Regions from separate parts of the Homo sapiens genome. Here all the other regions are linked to region 1. Evidence: promoter capture Hi-C in 16 types of primary human blood cells and fetal thymus (Javierre and others, 2016). All regions are on one chromosome and are shown on one strand. Each heading gives the region's core, a stretch centred on a gene start or on the middle of the fragment in contact. The rest is flanking DNA. Distances are from core to core; before and after follow the strand shown. Region 1 holds the start of PSMB1 (proteasome 20S subunit beta 1). Region 2 has its middle 4.2 kb from the start of RPS6KA2. Region 3 holds the start of CEP43 (centrosomal protein 43). Region 4 overlaps RNASET2 (ribonuclease T2). Region 5 has its middle 14 kb from the start of SFT2D1.

The links. The method cuts DNA at HindIII sites, captures the fragments that hold promoters and counts their contacts. A CHiCAGO score of 5 or more calls a contact.
Region 2: a fragment that was not itself captured here is called in contact with the fragment with the promoter of PSMB1 in region 1 in 1 of 17 cell types (neutrophils); the score reaches 5.1 in neutrophils.
Region 3: a contact is called between the fragment with the promoter of CEP43 here and the fragment with the promoter of PSMB1 in region 1, in 1 of 17 cell types (neutrophils). The highest score is 11.0, in neutrophils.
Region 4: a contact is called between a fragment that was not itself captured here and the fragment with the promoter of PSMB1 in region 1, in 1 of 17 cell types (neutrophils). The highest score is 7.0, in neutrophils.
Region 5: a contact is called between a fragment that was not itself captured here and the fragment with the promoter of PSMB1 in region 1, in 1 of 17 cell types (neutrophils). The highest score is 5.7, in neutrophils.

The regions. Positions count from the first base shown.
Region 1 is chr6:170,551,937-170,554,636 of GRCh38, reverse strand. It overlaps PSMB1 (proteasome 20S subunit beta 1), which reads left to right and starts at 1,330. Exons shown (of 6, transcript NM_002793.4): 1 at 1,330-1,507. The coding sequence starts at 1,395. It overlaps TBP (TATA-box binding protein), which reads right to left and starts at 268. Exons shown (of 8, transcript NM_003194.5): 1 at 174-268. RefSeq lists enhancers at 1-387, 1,198-1,577. The HindIII fragment of the contact is 7,721 bases long and covers 1-2,700 here.
Region 2 is chr6:166,630,127-166,632,826 of GRCh38, reverse strand. It overlaps a transcript of RPS6KA2 not described here. Among named protein-coding and RNA genes, the nearest start is that of RPS6KA2, 4.2 kb to the right of the region's middle. The HindIII fragment of the contact is 1,324 bases long and covers 762-2,085 here.
Region 3 is chr6:166,997,996-167,000,695 of GRCh38, reverse strand. CEP43 (centrosomal protein 43) reads right to left here and starts at 1,299. Exons shown (of 13, transcript NM_007045.4): 1 at 1,182-1,299; 2 at 583-636. The coding sequence starts at 1,283. RefSeq lists silencers at 838-927, 938-1,097, 1,188-1,707, 1,998-2,227. The HindIII fragment of the contact is 9,184 bases long and covers 1-2,700 here.
Region 4 is chr6:166,949,497-166,952,196 of GRCh38, reverse strand. The region is part of intron 2 of RNASET2 (ribonuclease T2); the gene reads left to right. Among named protein-coding and RNA genes, the nearest start is that of RNASET2, 5.7 kb to the left of the region's middle. RefSeq lists enhancers at 597-1,282, 756-1,675, 1,796-1,845, 1,971-2,656 and silencers at 2,446-2,515, 2,222-2,516. The HindIII fragment of the contact is 6,484 bases long and covers 1-2,700 here.
Region 5 is chr6:166,355,123-166,357,822 of GRCh38, reverse strand. No RefSeq gene overlaps it. Among named protein-coding and RNA genes, the nearest start is that of SFT2D1, 14 kb to the right of the region's middle. The HindIII fragment of the contact is 2,192 bases long and covers 252-2,443 here.

The sequences.
Region 1 (2,700 bases), core at 81-2,580:
GTGGCGGCCGAGTGGCCGTTACAGGCCGGAACGGCGGCAGCACGAAAGGGAGGAACGTCCCCCGAGGGGCCTGCACGCGCGCCAATTCCTAGTCTCTTCCCCACCATTGCCCCCAGGCCTCAGTGCAGTGGTGGCCTTCGCCCGAACCGTCAGAAAAGAGTACAATCTGTTACCTGGGTCACTGCAAAGATCACTATGGGCCAGCGGAAGCGAAGTTAAACAGCCGGCGGCCCAGGCGCCCGCCACAGCGAACCTGCCCGACCTCACTGAACCCCTGGCGCGCGTTGATAATGTCACTTCCGCCAGTTCTGCCCTCGGCTTCAGCGAGTTGCTCCCACTAGGGCCGAGGCCATGAGAAGTGTGAGCATAGGTCACTTCCTGTGTTTCCATAGGTAAGGAGGGGCGAAGCTCTTGAGGAGTTCCGGGGCGGGGCCGCCGTGCCACAGCCATCTCTAATTGGCCCTTGCTGGACGTAGGAAAGATCGATTTTTAAATGGCGTGTGTGTGTATATGTGTGAGTGTGTTTTGTTGTTGTTGTTGTTGTTGTTTAAAGCAACTAGCGGCGTTACCTTCGACAAGTTACCTGACCTCTCCCCCGCATTTTTTTTCTGTAAAATTGAATAATGATAACAGTGCTTACCCTTGGGCTGTCGGGAGATTGACAGAGATTGACAGAATCAGTGCCTGAGCAGTGCTTGGCACTCAGTAAGCGCGTCCTCCTTACCTGTCAGCAAGAACGCTAGCTGATCTTCAAGCGTGTAGAATGACAAGGAACACTAAGCAAAACAAACAGCTTGTGTTTACACATGCATTTATATTCAGTTCTGCCACTCCCAGTTCATGCACTGTTGTCACATGGCTCTTTCCGCAGTTGTTTCTTAGTGGGACTTCAGCACGCCTTGATTTTCCCTTCTGTAGTTCATTGTGGCGTAATCATATGTTATACTGCTTGTTTTCTTTGTACTTTTTATTATCAGTGAGGTTGTGAGCTCTTTAAGGATAGGAAATGTTATATACATTTTTTATTAGCCAGGACAATTAACGTTCCCACCGTTATTCGAGTTGCCGTTGCGCCATAGTTCTGACAATTTTTTTGTATGGTCAGACTTAAATTTTTGTCCATTGGGGTGAATTCCAATGTTTTCTTCGAGGGGGAAAAAAACAAAAAACAAACAAAAAAAACCCTTTACATCCCTGTCAGCGCTTTTTGGAATGGGCGGGATTCAACTACCAAAGGGACAAGCCGCCGTGCAGCCCTCCAGGAGCAACGACTAGCGTGAGATAGAGAGGCCGGGAGCGAACTTCAGGAGAAGCCGGAAGTGGCGTAACGTCCGGTCAAGGCAGCCATCTCGCCGTGAGACAGCAAGTGTCGGATCCGCAGGCGCAGCCGTGCGATGTTGTCCTCTACAGCCATGTATTCGGCTCCTGGCAGAGACTTGGGGATGGAACCGCACAGAGCCGCGGGCCCTTTGCAGCTGCGATTTTCGCCCTACGTTTTCAACGGAGGGTAAAAACCCCAGAGAGCTGCGGCTTTCACTTTCGCCCTTCCCCCATCTGCTGAAGCCTATTTAGGAGTCACCGCCGTGATGGCGCTGCCCCGGGCTCCTGCAGGCCTCAGAACCCTGAGCTGAGGGGGTCCGCACAAGGCCGGTCTCCCTGCCGTCCTCTCATGCCCTGTGTTTCCCTCTTCAGGCTCGCTTTGCTCAAGTTTACTTGGTGATTGCGATACAGCCTTGGTTTTTAGGGTTTCCCATTACAGTCATGTCATTTGAGTTTTTATGTGGACCGCCACTCCGTGCTCCTTGCTGCTGTAAGACAGTAAAGTAGAAATTGAAACATAGCCTCTGCTCTGTGGAAGACCATTAAAACTGGACCTCATGTACACGTTTCTTATGCCAGCCGGCGAGGGTAGAGGGTTAGCGTCTGAAACTTAAAAGTTAGGGTTGTTTGGTCTGTGTTGTTAGATGCATAGCTGGGTTGGTAGCCGAGATGTCTAATTGTAGCCGCCTGATTTCTGTTATTTCTAATTGTAGCAGTTTAATCATTTTGTTTTATTTCAAATAGAAGGTGGGATTGGCTGAGCAAACTTAGTTTCATAGATAAGTGCTTTTTTTTTTTAACGTTTAGCTTAAGTTCAGGAAAACAAAATACTCAGAAGATGGACCTTTTAGTATGTGTGTTCTTGTATGTTATGTTCAAGTTTTGGTTTTTATTTTAATTACCAGCTTTATCTTGAGTAGTATAATTTTCCGTGGTGGCACGCCAGAGATTTAGGGTTATAGAAAGATGCTCTGTTTAAGACTCTTGACAGGGAAGAGCTGTAAATTGAAACAGTGGTTATAGTTACCAATCAAGCCTTGTACATTAAAATATACACACGCAATTTGAACGAACCGATGGTTCTTAAAACAGAAAATATTGGCTGGGCAGTGTGGCTCGCACCTGTAATCCCAGGACTTTGGGAAGCCAAGGCAGGAGGATCATCGCTTGAGGCCAGGAGTTGAAGACCAGCCTGCGCAGCATAGCAAGACCCCATCTCTACAAAAATAAATTTTAAAAACAAAGCAAAAATGTTAATTGGTTCCTCATAAATTTGAAATATAAATGCACATTTTGGGAGTGTGTTAGAAAGATAACGAAAGTCTGATTTTAGCCTTGGTTCTGCCACTAAAGGACACTTTGGGTACTTCTGAACTTCTT
Region 2 (2,700 bases), core at 174-2,673, 3.9 Mb after region 1:
GTCCCTGCTTTCTCCTCCCTCACTAAGCTCGGGCTCCCAGTTTCCTTTCCTTTGGGTTAAGTTCCTTCTTGGTCTCCTGGTCTTTGTGTCTGTCTTCTGGTCTTTCTCCTCTGTGTTGTTGCTGTTGATTTCTGTATGTCCTTCCTCATTCATTCTTTTTATTTTCTCCAGCTTTGTTGAGGTATAATTGACAAAGAAATTTTTTTTTTTTTTTTGAGATGGAGTTTCGCTCTTGTTGCCCAGGCTGGAGTGCAATGGTATGATCTCCACTCACTGCAACTCTGCCTCCCAGGTTCAAGGGATGCTCCTGCCTTAGCCTCCCGAGTAGCTGGGATTACAGGCATGCGCCACCATGCCCGGCTAATTTTGTATTTTTAGTAGAGAAGGGGTTTCTCCATGTTGGTCAGGCTGGTCTCGAACTCCTGATCTCAGGTGATCTGCCCACCTCAGCCTCCCAAAGTGCTGGGATTATAGGCGTGAGCTACCCCGTGCAGCCAAAAGTTGCATAATTTAAGGGACACCCCATGGTGTTTGCTGTAGGTATACCTCATGTAAGGGTTCCCACAATCAAGCTAATGAACACACCCATCATCTCACATAGCTACCTGCGGGCAACACAGGTGGGCCTGGGGACATCATACTAAGTGGAATAAGCCAGACATGGGGAGACAAATGTCCATGATCTCACTTATCTGTGGAGTCTAAAAACTCCCCAGGGCTGGGGGTGGGGAAGGGCGATGTTGCTCAAAGGGTACAAAGCTTCAGCTATGAGGCAGACAGGTCCTGGAGGTTGAAGGCACCGCATGGCAGCTGGAGTTAGTATCCTGGAAATGTGCGGAGAGGAGCGCTGTCCCCACCGCCTCTCTGTCTGAATTTCATCTCTCTCATGTGGTGTTTGATTTAGGTCTTTTCGAGGCATTTACACCTTAGCTGATACTGGTGCTGCCCTGAGGTGCCACCTGTCTGGGCTCCGTTTGCCGCGCAGCCTCTCTCTGGTCTGTCTCTGCTCCGCTGTGTCTATGACTGCTCTGTGTGTTCGCATCTATCTCTTGGGTTCCACTGTCTCAAAGAGAAAAAGGGCTCACTGAGGCAGGGCCCTCCCTTCTCGCTGTTTGGGAGTCATGACTCCAGCCGTGCTCCGCTGACACCATGGAAGGCACCAGAGTGCCCCAGGCAGAGGGACGAAAAAAAATCTGTGTTACCAGGAAAGTTATTTGATCAGCCTCTCTGTAGATTCTGGCCCTATGGTTTATAAATGGGTTTCAAAAGAAAGTGGTATGAAGGAACATAGTATTTAAAAACCAATAAAATCCAAAGCTGTCCTCACAGCGGGCTGGCGGGGGAGGTGTTGCAGGTGAAGCCCACCTTCTGTGAGCCCTGTGCCTTCCTACCCAGGTTGGATGGGGGATGAGGGCTCCAGCGGGGAGGGAGGAAGCCAACCATGATGGTTTCCACAGCTTGAAACCCAATGTGGTTTTTCTTCCTAAATGTAAGCCAGTCAATAAGGGTCAAGTACAACTGGCCTGTGGGTTTCCACCTGCCTCTCCTGACTACTCAGAAACCAGGCCCTCTGGTTTCAAATGTAAATTCCATTTCCTGGTACTTCACCATTAGAGCTTTATTTCTGTCATTTTGAAGACTTTTACGCATTAAGACTTTCTTTTTAAATTTTCGATATGCTCAGAGATTTTAAACTGTTAAACTGAGGGCACAGGTGTCATTCTGACATGGCTTGGTTGGCACCCAGATGTGAATGAGACCCAAGTGTCCTGTGGGTGAGGGCCAGGGGCCAGCCAGAGACCAGAGGCAAACTTGATCCCTTCTGACTTTTGCCGAGGGCCCAAGAAGCCCTTCCCTGACAGCTCCAGGCCCCTTGCTGACACCTGCTCCGAACGTGCCCCCACCTGAACTGTCCACTACAGTTTACCTTCTAGGGTCTCAGGACTTTAAGACCATCTTCCTGAGCAAGGACTAATTCCTACATTCAAGAAACTTCAAAGTCATAAACATTTCAAGTACACGGGGATCCACAGCCCAGGAAAAGGATTCCTTTCTGTACACTCAGGGACTACACTAAGGGAAGCTTGACTAAACCCATTTGTATCACAGCCACAGGAAGTAGTTCACAGGGGCACACACTGAAGCCCACCTCCCTCCCTCGTACTGGCTGGACACTGTCTCTGGAGCATCCAGCAGGATGCCTGTGATGGGCAGAGCCTTCGAATGCTGATACTCCGGAAAAGCACGACTTCCTGCTTTCGCAGATGGCCAGCACCAGGTGACCCTGGTGATCCTGGTGAAGTTTTGCATCAGGTGAACCTAGTGAATTCACCTCCCATGGCAAAACTTTAGTCCTAATGAAGACCGAATGTTTCAATTTATTTTAAAGATATATAGTTTCACTTGAAGTGCAATTTAGCGTTTTATTGAAAATATGTGGGAGTTTTAGAAGCTTGAAACTTTCAGCAGCCTGTAGGACTGTTTGGAGACGAACAGACATTTGTGGTACTTGACTAATTAGAAGCTCTTGGATGTCACTCAAGCCACTCCTGTGGGGTGCCCCGAGAATGTGGCATCTTCCCATATGCAGAGAGCACACCAGCCTTACCCACAAGGTGCCTGTGTAGCAGGGAGAGATGGGAAACCTTGTCACAGCTGCCTGACAGTGCCCTGTTATTCCTCAGCCTGGGACTCCCGCCT
Region 3 (2,700 bases), core at 50-2,549, 3.6 Mb after region 1:
GAGAGGACAGTAGACTGATTTGTCATACAGCAAGAGTTTAAGGCTTTGATGATGGTTCTATTCTTGTTGACAAATTCCAGAATATTTACTCAGGATGGTTGGTGGGACTCCGAAAAAGTTAAATTACCCACTTAAATATAGAGTAGTGGCTGCACTTTTAAAATAATCGCTGTCTTTTTCATTGTCAAAATAATTGAGTGGTCAGATAATTTTGGGAAAAGTTGCATACTATATACCCCGTTTCATAGGGATTAATAACATATTAGCTTACTAAAGGATCTGAGTGAACCTGCACTTAACACATTGACAATGGCACCATTTCTTCAAGAAACTCCTATGACCATTTGTTTCAGATTAAGCATTAGTATCAGAGTTACTGTGGTACCTTAAGATTACCCCCAAATTCAAAAGCTACACGAAAAAAGAATAATTTTGGCTCTCTCTCAATAGTAATGTAATCCTTAACAGTTCAAAATTATCCCTAGCTATATGTTACTATAAACTATTTTTAAGACGGTTTTTAATGAATAAGAAATTAAGTATTAACGAATACAGCCATGTTAAAATCTGGAAACTTCATACCTCTACTTTTTCTTGCTCCTCTAGTGCTAAAAACACAGCTGCTCGGAGTTCAGCCTTAAAAAAAAGTTAAGAAACAGGAAATTATAATTTCAAGACAATTTTCACAACAAGCTCACATTTATCCAGCAACAAACACGAGCAAGCCAACGAGCTGGGAGGGCAGGTGCAAAGGTCAGAAACGCCTTCCGAAACGTTCTCAGTCACACAAGCTCTCCGACCCCCAGGCTTCGGCTGGACGCGCTGCTTTCCCGCCGCGGATCATGCCCGAGCCTGAGGAAGAGACGCTGGGGCCGCACTCCAGGGCCCAGCTGCGGGCCGCCCGTGTGGCCCCCAAGCCCCGCGGTCCCGCCCCCACGGAATGAGGCAGGGGATGGGCCAGGCACCCCCAGTCCGCGGTGCCCTCCGGGACCACACGAACGAACGAGCCGACCCCCTCTGTGGGGCGGGCAGGACGGAGGCCATGCCGGGGCGCGCCCCCAGTGCCCGCCGGCCCCGGTCCCTCGCCAGGGAGGCGGCCTCCTCGCCGCGACCGTTGTGACGCCCGCTGTCCACGCAAGCCCTGCGGATCCGCCAGGCCCGGCCCCAGCCTCCGGCCTCACCTTGATGCGGTTCAGGACCCCGCTGTTCTCCAGCGTCTGCACCAGCAGGTCCCGCAGCTCCGTGTCCTCCTCGGCCACCACTGCGGCCGCCGTCGCCGCCATCTTGCTTCTCCAAGACAACCGCCGAAGCCGCGCTAACGGCCAACGGCCGCAGCAGGGTACGCTCCGCGCGCGGGCTACGCGGCCGACGCAGCCAAAGCCCCGCCCCGACGCGCAGCGCGCTGGCCCTGCCCCCTGGCGTCGGGAGGCGGGGCATAGAGACCTCGGGGTTGACGCTGGACACCGAGCCTTGGGGAGCGCCGGACCACTGAGCGCCGAAACTTAGGGTCGGCGCTGGGGGCGGGGCTGCGGGGCGCGGGTGGGCACGCAAGGGGCGGGGCGTCGGCGGGGCCTCCAGCCGGCAACCCGTTGGCTGCCGTCGCCTGAGGCGCGAGCTTTGAAGCCGGCGAGCGGTGAGGAGGAGGCGCCCTCGCGTGTGGAGAGCGGACTCCGCCTGGACTCCACCGCCCACGGCCGCATCCCATCGCCGCACAAGATCGCCGGAGTCATATTATCGACGTAGTTAAAGCCCACTAGCCTAAAGCCGGGCGGACTGCGGTAAGGAGGCCCCGAGACCGAACCTGCAGCCCCTGCAGCCCCGGGGGGGCGCCGGGGAAGGGACTCCCGAGAGGTCGCGAGGGGCGGAAGGCCCTGCAGGTTGTCACCCGGAAATAACGTTCTGAGGCCCCCCAGCCAGGCGAACGCACCCTGCTCGGCCACGGCCTCCGAGGCTAACCGGAAAGGTGCCAGGCCGAGGTGCAGGGGCGGGATGGCCCCAGGAAGAGCCGAGGGCCGAGGAGGGCGTTGGGTGGGCTCCGCGCTGCCCGAACTGGGGCCGCAGTCTCCACTCCCTCCTGCCCCGCGGCCCTCCGCCGACAGCCAGGCGCCGGCGGGGAGTCCTGGACCCCTCCCGGGCCCTGGAAGCCCCGTCCCGCCGGAGCTGACGCGCCCTCTTGGTATCCATCCGGCCGCCTGGGCTGCCCCTCGCCCCTCGCCTTGGCAAAACCAGCCCCCGGACCGAGCCCTGCCTTGGAGAGTGTGGGTGCGCAAGGCCAGCCGAGCTGTCGGTTCCGGGGTTTCGGGGTGCGCCACTGTATGGCGGCGTAAGCCGAGAAGTGTCCGAGGCCGGGCTCCAGCAGTTGAGAGGCTGATTTGGCCACGGTGAAGGACGCGCCCGGAGGAAGGAAACGGGAATCCGAAACGGGCGGTGGCCGCGCCTTTCCCGAGGCCGGCGTCGAGGGCTTCAGCGCCTCAGGGTGGGCGGGAGGGGAAGGTCGTGCGACCCGCGTGGCCGGCGGAAAGGAGCAGCGGGAGCCGCGGCCGTAGGGAAGCCACGGGAAGACGGGCGGCTGCGCTGCGATGCGCGGCCCTCTCCCTGAAGCCCTCGGCTCAGGCGCCACAGGAAAGGCTCCTTCGGGCAGGCCTCAGCTTTCAGCTTAAGTTTTTTTCCTTTGGCCGAGTCAACTGCGGTGCCGAGTTG
Region 4 (2,700 bases), core at 201-2,700, 3.6 Mb after region 1:
TGGAAGGCTCTGAGAGAGTTTGTTCTGTTTCTCTGCTAGCTTCTAGTAAGGACCCGTGGTCCTCTGCGTTCCTGGGCTGACCCATCACCCCAATCTCTGCCTTCTCCTTCACGGTGTGTTCTCCACTTTGTGTCTCTCTGTCTCTTCTGATGAGGACACCAGTAATTGGATTTAGGGCCCACCCTAATCTGGTATCACCTTTTCTTGATGACATCTGCAAAGACCCTGTGTCCATGTAGGGTCATGTTCACAGATGGGAGGAGGGGTTAGGACAGGGATATATCTTCTGGGAGGACACGGTTCAACCCACAGCAAGCCTCAGTTTGTCTCCTCCCTCTGTGGGCGGCAAGCCACCCAGGTGCCAAGGCAAGAGACCGAGGGCATAAGCTGTTCCAGTATAATAAAGAAAATATATAAAATGAGAACAGTTATACTAGAAATAGATTATAGATATGATGATATATGAATATTATTAATCATCAGTTTGTAGCATTGCTCTTTATTCCAATATTATAATAATCCTTGCTCTACAATTACAGCCTAGGAAAAACCAGGCCATACAGAGATAGGAGCTGAAGGGGCACGGTGAGAAGTGACCAGAAGACAAGTGTGAGCCTCTGTCACGCCCGGACAGGGCCACTAGAGGGCTCTTTGGTCTAGTGGTAACACCAGTGCCTGGGAAGGCAACCATTACTTAGCTGACCTCGGTCTAGTGGTAGCGTCAGTGCCTAGGGAAGGCACCCGTTACTCAGCAGACTGGGAAAGGGAGTTAGAGCAGACTCTGCTTCACCATACCTCTTGTGGATAGGCCTCATATCAGTCAGGCCTGCCCACAGCCATCTGGAGGCCTAACCATCTCCCCGTGATGCTGTGCTTCAGCAGTCACACTGCTGTTTCACTTTCATGTTCCACCCAGTACACCTGGCTCTGCCTTCTAGATAGCAGTAGCAGAATTAGTGAAAGTACTAAAAGTCTTTGAAATGCATAGAAGAAATAATGGCGTAAGCTGGCCTCTCTCTCTCTCCGCCTCCGCTGCCATACAGGGAAGGGCCCTCTGTCCAGTGGACACGTGACTCACGTGACCTTATCAGTCATTGGAGATGACTCACACTCCTTACCCTGCCCCTTTTGCCTTGTATCCAATAAACAACAGTGCAGCCAGGCATTCGGGGCCACTACTGGTCTCCGCGTCTTGGTGGTAGTGGTCCCCTGGGCCCAGCTGTCTTTTCTTCTGTCTCTTTGTCTTGTGTCTTTATTTCTACAATCTCTCGTCTCCACACGAGGAGAAAAACCCACAGTCCCTGTAGGGCTGGTCCCTACATCCCTCCATGTATTGGACATTTTATTAACATGTCCTGTGAGTGAAGAGGACCCAAGAGCTTCCCTGCCTCCTTTGCTGTGCTTGGCACCCATGGCACTCACGGCCCTCCGGGCTGGCCCCTCATCATCTGGCTGCGTTTTGCTCCATGCCCACATCCCTTCAGTGCGTCAGTGTCCAGGCCCTTCTCATTGGAGCACCCAGAGCCAGGACACTGCCTGGATCTGCACCTCAGGGCGTACCCTGCTCGGTGTGTCAAGCTGACCCTGGTGTGCATTGCACACTTCTCAAGTGTTTGACCGTGTTGCTGAGCTAGCACCACATTCTGTCAGGAGCACGCAGGCTTTATGTTTTGCCTCTAGCACTGAGTGGTAGTGACTTTCGCTTCTACTTCCTCACTGATTTTTCTGATGACAAACGAAAATGAAATTTTGCTTATCTGGCTCAAATTATGCTCTTGCTCACTTCTGTACACGAGATTGCCCCGTTTTCAGTTTTGCAGACTTAATGTTGCGCTCCTGCTGCTGTTTCCTTGCCTTGGGTTGGGGCAGTGGACAGAAGGAGCCGGAAGCTGCCTGGCATCAACTTTCAATTGTTGGGAGTGTAGCTGGCATTCTGAGATAGGGAGGGATTGCTGGAGTCCTTGGTTCCTACGGAAGAAGGACCGTGGAGGAGGAGCTGGAACTTAAGCACTGTCTTTGACCCACACTGAAGGATCTGCCTCCAGGGCCTGAGACCAGGCTGCTCTGCATTCAGGGAGGCATTTACATGACAAAACGTGGGTGTGTCCCTGCACACTGAATGTAAATATGGGTGGAGGCACATCTTTGCCTTGAGGCTTTAGAAACAAGATTTAAAAAAAAATCTGTAGCAAAATGTCCTTGTTAAGGAGTGTATTTCCTACTGGGCAGCCATGGTGAAGGGTTCTGTTTGAGCCCAGGTGTCCTCCTAGGCAGTGAGGGCTGTCCCTGGTGCCCCCTCTGATGAGATGCTTGTGTCAAAGATGCTCAGTCTGCCTGTCGGGTTCTCAGTGTTCTGGGCTCTCCCACAGCTCCATGCAGGCAGGCCTGGGAACTGAGTGCTGTGCAGAGCCCTCAGAGCCCCGTGTGGTGCAGGCTTTGCTCTCTGCATTGCCTCCAGGAAAGGAGCCCAGCTTCTGGCTTTGAACTGGGTTCCCTGAGGGATAGAGTTGAGTGGCAGAGGTGAAGTTACAGGTTTTGGCCTCTGACCCTCTTTCTCCAGCACTGAGCAGTAAGGACTTTCTGTTCTACTTCCTCAACTGATTTTTCTGTTGACAAATGAAAATGCAGTTTCACTTATCTGGCTCAGATTATGCCCTTGATCATTTCTTTCTTTTTTTTTTTTTTTTTTTTTTTTTGAGA
Region 5 (2,700 bases), core at 98-2,597, 4.2 Mb after region 1:
TGTACCTCCTGAATCTATAAAAATAAAAATTAAAAGTTAAAAAGGAAGGAATTGGTGTAATAGCTATTTCAGTAGTGATAAATTATTTTGAATGTTTTCTGTTTTGAGCATAACAGACTCCTGAATTTTCATAGATTTAATGGGTTTCTATCAACTATGATACTATTCTCTTTCGCTCAAATGTCCTACCTTTGGCCACTGGGAGCCCTTTAATGGTGACCTTTTGATACAATCCCATCAATCTGAAAGCTTTCGTGTTTGCTGGTACAAGATTCTCCTGCTCACCCTGTCTTTTCCTTGTCCCCAACATGGAAGGAAGAGACATTTCTCCAAGGAGTTCTGGCTGCGTTTATGAGGAGTGGTGTTTGTAGCCAAAAGATGGACTCTTGGCACACTTACGCTATTAGGCGGACATTGCTTTTTGGCCATTTCAGTGGTCAGTGCTAGAAAGGTGTCTTTTTTAAAATCACAAGTTCATATTGATATTTACACTTCAACTCTAGTATTGTATTTCTACTTAATTTACTTGATTTTATAATTGAATCTCTTTTATACTGAATAGCATTATTTCTGATCACATAAATATTCTCTACTTACTTGCTTTAACAATATAGTTTCACAATAACAATACCATTATTAACACAAACAGTGAAACTACTAAATACAATTTCAAAATTTTATTTACAGTTTTTGTCTTTAGAATCCATGTCCTAAGCATGTGTGTTCCAAGTAATAATGGTTCTAAATTCACTTGAAATTACCTTTTACTGTGTGTTATGTAAGCACCTATCCAATGTAGACTTTAATGCAATTGTTAGTTTTTATTTTCAGTGTAAAGTTTCTGCTTTCTAGCAGCTGCTAGTTCTTAGAAGGCTAGTCCTGTTAGGTACAGGAGGTGGGAGGTCAGTCTACCACGAACTTCGAGACAATCTACCGTCAGAGCAATTGGGTCTAAATGCTTCCATTCTTCATCATTTAGTCTGTCTACACCAATGAGTTCTGGATAAACAAATCAATTTCTGCCTTCTCCTTTTTAACTCTTTTTTTTTTTTTTTCGAGACAAGGTCTTGCTCTGTGGCCCAGGCTGGAGCATAGTGGCGCAAACACAGCTCACTGCAGCCTCAAACTCCTGGGCTCAAGAATGTTCCCATCTCAGCCTCCCAAGTCACTGGGACTACAGATGCATGCCATCACGCCCAGCTCATTTAAAAAATTTTTGGAGAGATGCATGTCTCACTATGTTCCCCAGGCTGGTCTTGAACCCCTGGGCTAGCTAAAGTAATTCTTCCACCATGGCCTCCCACGGTATTGGGATTACAGATGTGAGCCACCATGCCTGGCCAGCCTTTTACTATTTAATTTCAAGTGCTATTAGAACCTAGATATTTTAACTTTTTAATCTTGTCCTGAAAGATCATCCTGTGAAGGTTTTATTCTGTGCCCTTTTTGAGTGATAACTTTTCTCTTTAAATAAAAATAATCATATCCAACCTATCTAAATAGCATGCTATGTATTTTCTCATTATGGCTTATACTGTATACATTCAAATAACTGTCAGTTAACATTCTCTTGACTTTATTCGAGTCAGTGTTTAATTTTTCCTATAGAGGGGCTTTAAGGAGATAGATGATGTTTTAAGATTCCACATGATGAGCAGAGGTGAAAAATATAAACGCAGCTCTTAAGGGTTTTGTCTGAAACCTCTTCACTTGTAAGTCAAAATGCAGACTTTGCTTTTTGTATGTGTTTTCTAGTACAACTAAATACCCTTCAGATAACTCACCTACCTCAAACCTTTTAGTGATTACAGTTATTTACTTAAAAAGACAAAACAAAAAAAGCCTAGGAGTTCTGCATGACTAAATGTGCTTAGTTTGCAACAGCAACACCATCGCTGAAGCATGAGTTTTGCAAGTTGGGTGAGGGTTAACACAGCCCAGCTGGATGCAGCACGCGTGGCACAGGGTGCCATTGCAGTGCCTGTGATTCTGGCTGGGAGAGATGAAGTGAGGGCACAGGGCGGGCCACTTCACAGAGGAGGACATGGGCTCTAGTGGCCCACCCCAGGCAGATGGTGTCTCTGGCTCCCCATGTGTCCAATGCACTTCTTACTCCATAGGGAACACACAGCCATCCAGATGCAATAAGGACTGTTCAGCAGATCCAGTTTTTACGCTTTCCTTCATTTAAAGTCAGCCACATTTATACTTTCTTCTAAAAGCACTTCTAATCAAGAATTATAATGTCATAATTTTTTACTATAAATTAGCATAAATTTCAAGTAAGTTGCTACTTAGAGCAAAAAGTGACTCCTTAAAAACAATTAGGGCACATTAGCCAATTGGGGGATGGGGAATGAATCAGGCAGTTACTTTTTCTAGACAAATGCTATGAAATCTCTCTAAGTCGACAAGATCAACTCTCAGTTGAACAAAGCAAGCTTACAGCATTTTAAAAATAGTCTGAAAAATGTATGAACATATGAGGGAAAACTCTGCAAATTTTGTTTAAAATTTAAAAGGCTTCCTTTCTATTTAGAAGACAGAATTACACAAGACCTCATAGAGAGGTGTATATTTTCTGATGTTGGCATGAGCTGCCTGAGACCAGCTACAACTGCGCAGGTGCGTCTCCCATCAGCCCCCGGCGCACTGAAAATGTATGCTTGTCTCTCTCCTCCATTGGATGGTAGGCTCTTT